Regions from separate parts of the Homo sapiens genome. Here region 1 is linked to region 2. Evidence: promoter capture Hi-C in human tissues and cell types (Jung and others, 2019). All regions are on one chromosome and are shown on one strand. The core of a region is centred on a gene start or on the middle of the fragment in contact, and the rest is flanking DNA. Distances in the headings are between cores, read along the strand shown.

Region 1 (5,511 bases), core at 1-2,500, 350 kb after region 2:
AGGCTGGACTGCAATGGTGCGATCTCGGCAGTGCCTGGTGGCACATGCCTGTAGTTCCAGATACTTGGGATGCTGAGGTGAAAGAATCCCTTGAGCCTGGGAGGTCAAGGCTTCAGGGAGACATGTATGCACCACTGCACTCCTGCCTGGGTGACAGAGTGAGAACCTGTTTCAAAATAAAATAGGCCGTGGCTGGGCGCAGTGGCTCACACCTGTAATCCCAGCACTTTGGGAAGCCGAGGTGGGTGGATCACCTGAGGTCAGGAGTTCAAGACCAGCCAGACCAACATGGTGAAACCCTGTCTCTACCAAAAATACAAAATTAGCTGGCTGTGGTGGCACATTCCTATAATCCCAGCTACTTGGGAGGCTGAGGCCAGAGAATCGCTTGAACCTGGGAGGTAGAGGTTGCAGTGAGCCAAGATAGCGCCATTGCACTCCAGCCTGGGTGACAGAGTGATAAATAAATAAATAGGCCAGGTGCAGTGGCTCAGGCCTGTAATCCCAGCACTTTGGGAAGCCGAGAGGGGAGGGTCACCGGAGGTCAGGAGTTCAAGACCGGCCTGGCCAATGTGGTGAAACCCTGCCTCTACTAAAAATACAAAAATTAGCCGGGCCTGGTGGCGGGTGCCTGTAATTCCAGCTGCTTGGGAGGCTGAGGCATGAGAATCACTTGAACCCAGGAGGTGGAGGTTGCAGTGAGCCAAGATCGCGCCACTGCCCTCTAGCCTGGGCAACAGAGTGAGACTCTGTCTCAAAAAAATAAAAATAAATAAATAAGCTGTGCATGTTGGTTCATGCCTGTAATCCCAGCACTTTGGGAGGCCAAGGCAAAGGGATCACCCGATGTCAGGAGTTCAAGACCAGCCTGGCCAACATGGTGAAACACCATCTCTACTAAAAATACAAAAATTACCCGGGCATGGTGGTGCCTGCCTGTAACCCCAGCTGCCCAGGAGGCTGAGGCGGGAGAACCGCTTGAACCCAGGAGGCGGAGGTTACAGTGAACCAAGATCACTGCCACTGCACTCCAGCCTGGGTGACAGAGTGAGACTCCATCTCAAAAAAAAAAATAAATAAATAAATACAATGACAATCTCTGGAGGTGGGTTACCATCATGTGTTTTCATCTTTTATGACTATTTCAGGTCAGCTCTATGGCTCTTCCACATGATTCAAACGAAACTTCCTATTTGCTGCCTCCCAACAATGAGGACTGGGGCAGGCAAACCATTCCTGACTTTGTTTATGGGCAGAAGGATCTCATGGCAGAAGGGATTCAGTGGCCAAGGAATGCACCTGGCATCCCAGATGCTCTGCCACAATCTCCCTTTGATGCTGCACTCTGCTCTGCCTGGAAGCAGCGGGTGGAGCTGGGGCTGTTTCGCTACCGTCTACGGGAGCTACAGACCCAAATCCTCCCTGGTGCTGTGGGTTTCGTGGCTCAGCTGAATGTGGAGCGTGGTGTGCAGAGGAGGCCCCCGCAGACCATCAAGAGTGTGAGGCAGGCATTTGACCCTGTACAGTTCAACTTCAACAAGATCCGGCCCGGAGAAGTCCTCTTCCGTTTGCACCGGGAGCCTGATCTCCCTGGGACTCTGCTGCAAGAAGACATCCTGGTGGTGATCAACGTCAGCCCCCTGGAGTGGGGCCACGTGCTGCTGGTGCCTGAGCCTGCCCGCCAGCTCCCCCAGCGCCTGCTGCCGGGTGCACTGAGGGCAGGGATTGAGGCTGTGCTGCTGAGCTTACACCCGGGCTTCCGTGTCGGCTTCAACAGCCTGGGAGGCTTGGCCTCGGTGAACCACCTCCACCTGCATGGCTATTACCTGGCCCACAGACTGCCCGTGGAGCAGGCGCCAAGCGAGCCCCTGGACCCTGGAGGCCATTTGCATCTGCTCCAGGACCTCCCAGCTCCTGGCTTCCTCTTTTACACTCGTGGGCCAGGGCCTGACTTGGAGTCCTTGATAAGCAGGGTATGTCGGGCCACTGATTATCTGACTGACCATGAGATTGCTCATAACTTGTTTGTCACCCGGGGAGCTCCGCCGGGAAAGACATCACCTTCCTCAGCCCTCACAGGGGTCCGAGTAATTCTGTGGGCCCGGAAGTCCAGCTTTGGGATAAAGGACGGTGAAGCTTTCAATGTTGCCCTCTGTGAGCTGGCTGGGCACCTCCCTGTCAAAACATCCCAGGACTTCAGCAGCCTGACAGAGGCAGCTGCTGTGGCCCTCATTCAGGACTGTCGGCTGCCCCCATCCCAGGCAGAAGACGTACAGGCAGCACTGGTGGCCCTGATGTCCCAGGAAGAGCAATAATACTTCTGGATGTATTTATGTTCTTTTTTTCTTTTCTTTTGAGATAGGGTCTCACTCTGTCCCCAGGCTAGAGTGTAGTGGTATGATCCTGGCTCACTGTAGCCTCCACCTCTGGGGCTGAAGTGATCCTCCCACCTCAGCCTCTTGAGTAGCTGAGACTATAGGCGTGCACCACCACACACCTGGCTTTTTTTTTTTTTTTTTTTTTTTTTAACGATTAGGTGATTTTGTATTTTTTTATATAGACAGCGTTTCACCATGTTGCCCAGGCTGGTCTTGAACTCTTGGGCTGAAGCAGTCCTCCCACCTCGGCCTCCCAAAGTACTGAGATGACAGGAGTGAGCCCCTGGATTCTTTTCTGTTTCTTTTTTTTTTTTTTTTTTTTTTTTTTTTTTTGAGATAGTCTCGCTCTGTCACCTAGGTTGGGGTGCACTGGTACAATCTCGGCTCACTGCAACCTCCACCTCTAGGGTTCGAGTGATCCTCCTGGCTCAGCCTCCCGAGTAGCTGGGACTATACAGGCTCCTGCCACCAAACCCGGCTAATTTTTTTGTATTTTTAAAAGAGAAGGGGTTTCACCACATTGGCTAGGCTGGTCTTGAACTCCTGACTTTAGGTGATCCGCCCGCCTCGGCCTCCCAAAGTGCTGGGATTACAGGCGTGAGCCACCACACCCAGCCAGGATGTATTCATTTTCTACCTGATGAGTCCCTTTCCAGAGCACTGTCCATCATAGTCCTTTGGACATTTATTTTCATGGCTGCCTTCTCACCTGTCTCAGCCTAAGAAGAAGGATGAAGAAAGCTGATAATGATCTCTTAAAGGGGAGAAAGATAATGGTCTCTTTAAAGGGGAGCTGATAGTGGTCTCTTTAAAGGGGAGAAAATCTGGAATAATTCTACTGAGTAAGACATCATGAATGTATCTGCTACCTCTCCCCGTTCTTGTTCAAGCCCCAGGGGTGTTAAAAAGGAGTGTGTGTGACAGTTACACACTCCTGACTTTACATTTAGATTTTGTCTTCCTTTGATATCAAATGTTAGCACGGTAATAGTGCCTGTGCCTCCAGTATTGAGCTGCCACTTCTGTTCTCAGCCTGTTTATTCCCCTTTGCTCACCACTTATTTTTATTGCTTTGTCCCTTCTTTCCATTTAGCCCTGCTCCACCCAAATGCCCCACTCCTTCACTTTCCCTGCCACCTTGAGCTTTCCTCTAGCCCCCAACACCAAGTTGAATGCTCTTCACTGACATCATCTGATGTAAAAACACAGTGTTGTCACAACTTTCCGGGTGCACGTCTTTTTTTGTTTTGTTTTTTTGTAAGGCTGGGGTGCAGTGGTGCAATCACAGCTCACTGCAGACCCAAACTCTTGGTCTCAAGCCACCCTCCCACCTCAGCCCCCTGAGTAGCTGGGACGATAGGTGTGCACCATCACACCTGGCTAATTTTTAAATTTTTTGTAGAGATAGGGTCTTGCTATGTTGCCCGGGTTGCTGTCAAACTCCTGGCCTTAAGAAATCCTCCCACCTCGGCCTCCCAGAGTGCTAAGATGCCACCACACCTTGGTGCAGGTTTTTTTTTTTTTTTTTTTTTTTTTTTTTTGACACAGGGTCACTGTCACCCAGGCTGGAGTGCAGTGGTATGAAGACAGCTAACTGCAAGCTTCAACCTCCTGGGCTCAAACAATACTCCCATCTCAGCCTCCCTAGTAGCTGGGACCACAGGCATGCGCCACCACACCCGGCTATTTTTTTGGAGAGATAGCATCTTGCCAAGTTGCCCAGGCTGGTCTCGAACTCCTGGCCTCAAGATCCTCCCACCTCAGCCTCCCAAAGTGCTGAGATTATAGGCATGAGCCACTGCACCTGGCCTGAGTTTTTTTTTTTTTTTCTTGAATCAGAGTTTCACTCTGTTGCCCAGGCTGGAGTGCAGTGGTGTGATCTCGGCTCACTGCGTCTCTGCCTCCTGGGTTCAAGCAATTCAGCCTGAGTCTTCTTAATACCCCCATTCAAAACGGGATGGAGACTGACAGTTTGTACTTTGTTCAAGGTCAGGCAGCTGGAGTCGGGACTGCAGCACAGGCAGGTACCAGAAGATGAGCTGGGACAATGTGTGCTTGTGACCGCCTCTCCAGTCAGTGGTTCCCATGGTGGGTAGCACTGTCCTTAACAGTTTGCCCTCCCTGAGCCTCAGCCATCCCTCTTGGGGTCTTTCCCAAGCACTTTAGAAGCTCCTCTTGATGTAGACACAAAATCCAAAGCTAAGTCGTTGTTCCTCCGTCTGCATCTGAGTCAATGTGGGAAATTTTTTTTTATCTCATTGCTTTGTTCTGTCCTGTTTCTCCAGACATTTCACACTGGTTCCAGAGGAACTAGTCAGTAGACACTATTCTAAGAGAGTATGTGGGTGTGAAATCTCATTTTCCTTTTAGCTCCCTTGAATGTTATACAGCAAAAGTAAAAGAAGTCTTGGGTTGGCTGGGCACGTTGGCTCACACCTTTAATCCTAGCACTTTGGGAAGCCGAGGCAGGCAAATCACTTGTCAGGAGTTCGAGACCAGCCTGGCCAACATGGTGAAACCCCATCTCTACTAAAAATACAAAAATTAGGCGTTGTGGCGGCCACCTGTAATCCCATCTACTTGGGAGGCTGAGGCAGGAGAATCACTTGAACCCAGGAGGCGGAGGTTGCAGTGAGCTGAGATTGCACGACTGTACTCCAGCCTGGGCGATAGTGCGAGACTCAGTCTCAAAATAAATAAATACATAAAGTCTTGGGTCCAGCTCTCAACAGAGATTATCACCGCCACCACTCCTTCATCAAACATCCTGAAGGAATGAGAGTCCCTGTTCACAGCGTAAGGGTGAAAGGGGGCTCACACAGGTGGGTTCTGGCTGCTGTCTGAGTGGGCTCACCCAGGAGGGGTTTTGATTTCTCTGCCTCCCAAACTGTGGGTCCTAGCCCTGGCTTAGGCCTTCAGGTCGTTGGCTCCCTATACCTAGGCCTGTATAAAGCCTTAGTTTCCAGTTTTCATTAGAGGTTTTACATCCCAAATGATGTTACAAAGTCTCCCTGTGATAAAGCAGAATATGTGTCCATAGCCCATTTTATAAGAAAAACAGTTTAGGCCAGGTGCGGTGGCTCACGCCTGTAATCCCAGCACTTTGGGAGGCTGAAGCAGGCAGATCACAAGG
Region 2 (5,674 bases), core at 696-3,195:
GAAATGAAGAACATCAGATACATGCTACAACATGGATGAATCTTGAAAACATTATACTACATGAAACATGGCAGACACACAAAAAACCACTTATTTATGATTCCATTTATAGGCAACGGAATAGGCAAATTCCATTTGCCATTCTGGAACTGGCAAATTTAGAGGGAAAGAAACTCTCTGGGGCTGGGAGAGTCATGGAGAAATAGGGAGTGACTGCTAATGGGCAGAGGTTTCTTTTTGGGGTGATGAAAATGATCTAAAATTGATTGTGGTGATGGTTACACAGCTTCTGTGAACATGCTAAAAAACACTGAATTGTCCCCTTTAAATAAGTAAACTGGGGCCGGACACAGTGGCTCATGCCTGTAATCCCAGCACTTTGGGAGGCTGAGTCCGGTGGATTGCTTGAGCCCAGGAGTTCAAGACCAGCCTGGGCAACATAGAAAGACCCCGTCTCTATAAGTAAATAACATAAAATAAATAAGTAAACAGTATGGCATGTTAGTTTTATCTCAGTAACCCTGTTAGAAAAAAACTAGGGGGGAAATTTGCATACACACAAATGCAAATACAAATAGTTACGCTGAATACTCATATACATACATATATATATATACTTTTTTGTGTGTGTGTGTGATGGAGTCTCGCTCTTTCGCCCAGGCTGGAGTGCAGTGGCGCTATCTTGGCTCACTGCAAGCTCCGCCTCCCGGGCTCACGCCATTCTCCTGCCTCAGCCTCCTGAGTAGCTGGGACTTGGAGGTGCCCGCCACCGCGCTTGGCTAATTTTTTGTATTTTTAGTAGAGACGGGGTTTCACCGTGTTAGCCAGGATGGTCTCCATCTCCTGACCTCGTGATCCGCCCGCCTCGGCCTCCCAAAGTGCTGGGATTACAGGCGTGAGCCACCGCGCCCGGCCTGAATACTCATATTTTTACCTCGATGTAATCTACTTAATAAAATGTAATCTAGCTTTAAAAATCTTATGAAGGAGTAAAATTATTTTTTCATTTCTAATTGACAAAAGACAATAAAAGTCTGAAAAGGGTTTATTAACTTGTCAACAGACGCAAGAGTAGAAAAGGTGGAGCTGAAGCCTGAACACGTTTTCTGGCTCTTTCCCCTCTTCAGTTCCACCAGTCCCCCAATTATGTAACATTTTGAAACCCTGCCATGAAGAAATATAATCTTCGAAGACAGGAAGCAAATACTGATGTTTATGTGTTTGCAAAGGAACGTGTTGGGAAAATTCAAATTTACGTAATCACTTATTGAGCCCTTATGCGGCAGCATTTATAATTTCTCATCATTTTTCCACTTTTAAACTGATTTTCTTCAACCCTAAGAGTGAAGGGTATCTAGTCTCTGGAAAGTCCCAGCCAACACTGAAGCAAAATAATTCCAAAAAAAAAAGAACTTTTCCAGTTCTGGCTATAACAAAAACTTTCAGAAACTTAATATTTCTTCCTCATGAAACTGTGGTCAACAACCAAAAAGATGACAGAATGTGACTTCAATCACTCAAGTTCTCATCGAGGCACACTCCCCACTGTCGCTTCTATCTCGTTCCCAGAGACCCACGGGAAAATGTCACAAAATGGCACAGAAATGCCAGGATCAAGAAAAGGGTCAGCGAGAGCGGGGCAGTAGGGCGGGAGACAGAAGGCCTGGCACCAGCCTGCGCCTAGATTAAATGCTTAAGTAGGGCGAGGGTCATGCTCGGTGCAGGAGCCCCAGGTGACCAAAGAGCGGTGCCCCCGGGCGCCGAGAGGCCAAAGAGGAGGGAAGACATAGTGGGCGCCCTGAAGGGGCGTGGTGAAGCCGGGCCGCACTCACGAAACGCTGGTAGAAGCGGACTAGCCGTGGCTTCCCATGGTTGTTGAAAACCAGAATCGCCTGAATCATCTTTGCCAGCCACGGTTCTCTCAGCACCGGCTACTCCCAGAAAGCTCCTCCTTCCGCCACAACACGATCACTTCCGGTTGGTGCGCTGCTGAGAGCGGCACTCGGAAACTTGGCCCCGGCGCTCACGAGCCCTAGCACCCAAGGGTCCGGCCTCTCTGACGCCTTGGAGGGCAGGTGCGGATGCCGAGGAGAGTGGTCACCTCGGCCAGCGTTGGTTGGCCAGTCAGGATGCGAATCCGGATCTATGTCCCTCGCCCAGACCGACGGCTGGCCCCAGAAGCCGAAACGACCGTCAGCCGGGTTGCCAAAACGGAGAGGCGGCGGGAGCTTGCTTTTCTCACCGCCCGCTCCAAATCATGCACTCCCGCCATCCCCTTAGCGCTCGCAGAACGTTCCGCGGAGTGGAGACGCCGGTCATTCGGCCGTTCGTCGGTTATGGAACATTTCGTTCATTTTAATTTTTCAGTATTATAATGCTGCAGTGAATTACGTAGCTGTCTCTCCGTGCAGATGGGCTGTTCCTCTATGGTAGACGGTGAATGGTGGAATTAAGGAATTTTTAGTGCATTTCCATTTAAAATCCCAAATCGATCAAGTTCTTATTTTTGTTTGTTCTTTTAATGACCCAGTGTGGGTGAAGTGGAGCATGTCCGTATACTGCAGATGGAGCAGCGGATACAGATGCAAATCGATCCAGAGGACTGTTTGGCGATATGGATCAGAAGCCTTTAAAATATATAACAGTCCGGGCGCGGTGGCTCACGCCTGTAATCCCAGCACTTTGGGAGGCCGAGGCGGGCGGCTCACTTGAGGTCAGCAGTTCGAGACCAGCCTGGCCAACAAGGTGAAACCCCGCCTCTACTAAAATTACAAAAATTAGCCGGTTGTGGTGGCGCGCGCCTGTAGTCCCAGATACTTGGGAGACTGAGGCAGGAGAATGGCTTGAACCCGGGAGGCGGAGGTTGCAGTGAGCTGAGATCACACCACACTGCACTCCAGCCTGGGTGACAGATATATAACATATATATATATATATATAAAACATTAGACTCAGCGTTTCCAGCTCTAGAATTTATGATAAAATGATTGTGGATGTGTGAAAAGATTTAGCCTGAGGAACATACATTTCTGCCAGAGTATCTTCAGAACAGTAAAAAAAAGAAGAAAAAAATATATATCTCAGCAGTGTTATTACAGGGGAAAATGGGAAGAAAATTATTACAAAAATGAGAAATTGGTTAAGTGCATTGTTCTACATTGAATATGAGAAATATTAAATAGATAATAAAAATCATGCTGGGAAAGATTTATGATACGGAAGTGTTCATGACACCTGTTAAGCTAAAAGATTACACAAAGTATGTACAGGGACAACCCACTTTGCTCAAGATTGGAGGCAAATACACCAAAATATGAATCATGTATCTGATGGAATGGCAGAGTCAGGGTGTTTGATCTGTACAGGACCCTGGAACCACACTGCCCTGATTCAAAGCATGGTTCTGCGGACTGCCTGGGCACCCTGGGCAAGTTTCCCCATCTGTAGAAAAGGTGTAATATCAGTTTCCTAAACTGGAAAACTGGAAAATGAGTCTACTGACTTCAGACAGTTGTTATAAACACAAAGGGAGTTAGTATAATATTTGTAAGCACTTGGACAGTGCATGGCACATAACTGAGTACCACATAAGTGATTTAAAAACATCTTTGGGTGGTAGGATTATCAAGTTTTCCTTTTTTTCCTTCAAAGAAATATGTACTACTTTTGCAGCCAGAGTTCTGGGGTTTGCTTGTTTGTTTTTCAGAGATAGGGTCTTACCCAGGTTGGAGTGCAGTGGCACAGTCATACCTCACTGTAACCTCAAACTGCTGGCCTCAGGCAATCCTCCAGCCTCAGTCTCCCAAACCGCCACCACGCCTAGTCCAGTTTTTTGTTTGTTTGTTTGTTTGTTTGTTTGAGATGGAGTCTCACTCTGTTGCCCAGGCTGGAGTGCAGTGGCACAATCTTGGCTCACTGCAACCTCCGTCTCCCGGGTTCAAACAATTCTCCTGCTTCAGCCTCCCCAGTAGCTGGGATTACAGGCACATGCCACCATGCCCAGCAAATTTTTGTATTTTTAGTAGAGATGGGGTTTCACCACATTGGCCAGTCTGGTCTCAAACTCCTGACCTCAAGTGATTCACCCATCTCAGTCTCCCGAAGTGCTGGGATTACAGGCGTGAGCCACTGCGCCCGGCATGGCCCAGTTTTTAAATAAATAAAAACCAAAAGTCAGTTGCACTGAAACTTGACAAAATGTTTAAAATGTTGAGGAAGAATATCAAAGAAAATTCTGAAACAGAATTATGAAGAAGAACTAGCTCTGCCAACTATGAAAACCTACTTTGATGGTTCAAATTGTAATTATAGGAAGAATAACTGAAATATTATAAATAATTTAGGCATAAAATAATTTTAATATGTGATGTAGGAGTGGGAAGGAATTCAGTAAATACTATTAGGATAACTGGTTAGCAATTTGAAAATAAGTAGTTAGGTATAAAACCAGATAATAACCTAAACAGAAGAAAGCGAAATTGAATAAGATCCAAAAATCTGTATTAGCTTAGAAGCAATAAAAATCACAAAACATCAACAGATATATAAAGTTTTTTTATAAAAAGAATTATTTAATGGAAAAATCGTTGTTAAAATATGGCAAATGGTTATATTTAAAATGCAAATAACTGATAAACTAAAAAGATAACACTCCCCATCTCCCCAGTAGATAAATGGACGAAAGAACGAATAACAAAGGGAGAAATACAGCTAGGAAAAGGAAAAAATGTTTAAGCTCACTATAAGTGGGGGAAAGGCAAATTAAAATATATTCAAATATTATTTTCACCTCATCAAAAATCATTTTAAAAATGTTTTCATACCCAATTCTCACAAGGGCAGCATAAAAATGGTTCTCCCCTACATTGCTGGTGAAATTATGGTTTAGAACAACCCTTTTGGGAAGCAATTTGGCAATATAACAAGAACTTTGCAAAAGATTTCTAGATTCTCAGTAATATGACTCCTGGGCATCTGTTCCTAAAGAAATAACCCAAAAATATAGTTAGAGGTGGGGAATTAAGAGAACTATATAATTTTCAACATTTTTGGAAACATTAATTCTGTTAGCCACACAGGGATCAATTTTAAATATCCAAAAGTTGGACCATGACAGAACTATCCAATGGTAGCAATCTTAAAAATAATGGTTACAGGTGGGCGTGGTGGCTCACGCCTGTAATCCCAGCAATTTGGGAGGCTGAGGAGTGAGGATCACTTGAGATCAGAAGTTCAAGAAAAGCCTGGCTGACATGGTGAAACCCCGTCTCTACTAAAAATACAAAAACTAGCCGGGCGTGGTGGCGTGTGCCTGTAATCCCAGCTACTCGGGAGGCTAAGGCAGCAGAATAGCTTGAACCCGGGAGGCAGAGGTTGCAGTGGGCCAAGATCGCGCCATTGCACTCCAGCCTGGGCAACAAGAGCAAAACTCCATCTCAAAAAAAAGAAGAAGAAAAATGGTTACAAAGACTATGCAGCAATATGGAAAGTGATTATGTGTGGGCATAGTGTTACAACAACTACCTACAAGCATTACAGATGTTTCAGAATTTGTCTAGCAGGTTTTCCAGTTTGTACCAGAAAACCCCTATGCAAGTTTACAAAAACCAAAACTATGTACACAAATTACATGCTAAAAAACCCAAATACTAAAAATTATGAACATGACTGAGTG

Evidence for each region. The method cuts DNA at HindIII sites, captures the fragments that hold promoters and counts their contacts. A contact is called where the count stands out against the background at its distance.
Region 1: a fragment that was not itself captured here is called in contact with the fragment with the promoter of AP3S2 in region 2 in 7 of the 25 tissues and cell types used here (IMR-90 fibroblasts, aorta, dorsolateral prefrontal cortex and 4 more).

The regions. Positions count from the first base shown.
Region 1 is chr15:90,239,752-90,245,262 of GRCh38, forward strand. GDPGP1 (GDP-D-glucose phosphorylase 1) reads left to right here. Exons shown (of 4, transcript NM_001013657.3): 4 at 1,149-5,511. The coding sequence starts at 1,158. The coding sequence ends at 2,315. It also overlaps a transcript of CIB1 not described here. Among named protein-coding and RNA genes, the nearest start is that of TTLL13, 7.0 kb to the right of the region's middle. The HindIII fragment of the contact is 7,306 bases long and covers 1-4,903 here.
Region 2 is chr15:89,892,049-89,897,722 of GRCh38, forward strand. AP3S2 (adaptor related protein complex 3 subunit sigma 2) reads right to left here and starts at 1,946. Exons shown (of 6, transcript NM_005829.5): 1 at 1,833-1,946. The coding sequence starts at 1,901. The region is part of intron 5 of ARPIN-AP3S2 (ARPIN-AP3S2 readthrough); the gene reads right to left. ARPIN (actin related protein 2/3 complex inhibitor) reads right to left here. Exons shown (of 6, transcript NM_182616.4): 6 at 2,958-5,674. It also overlaps the pseudogene RNU7-111P. RefSeq lists enhancers at 235-984, 1,977-2,126, 2,481-3,228. The HindIII fragment of the contact is 43,728 bases long and covers 1-5,674 here.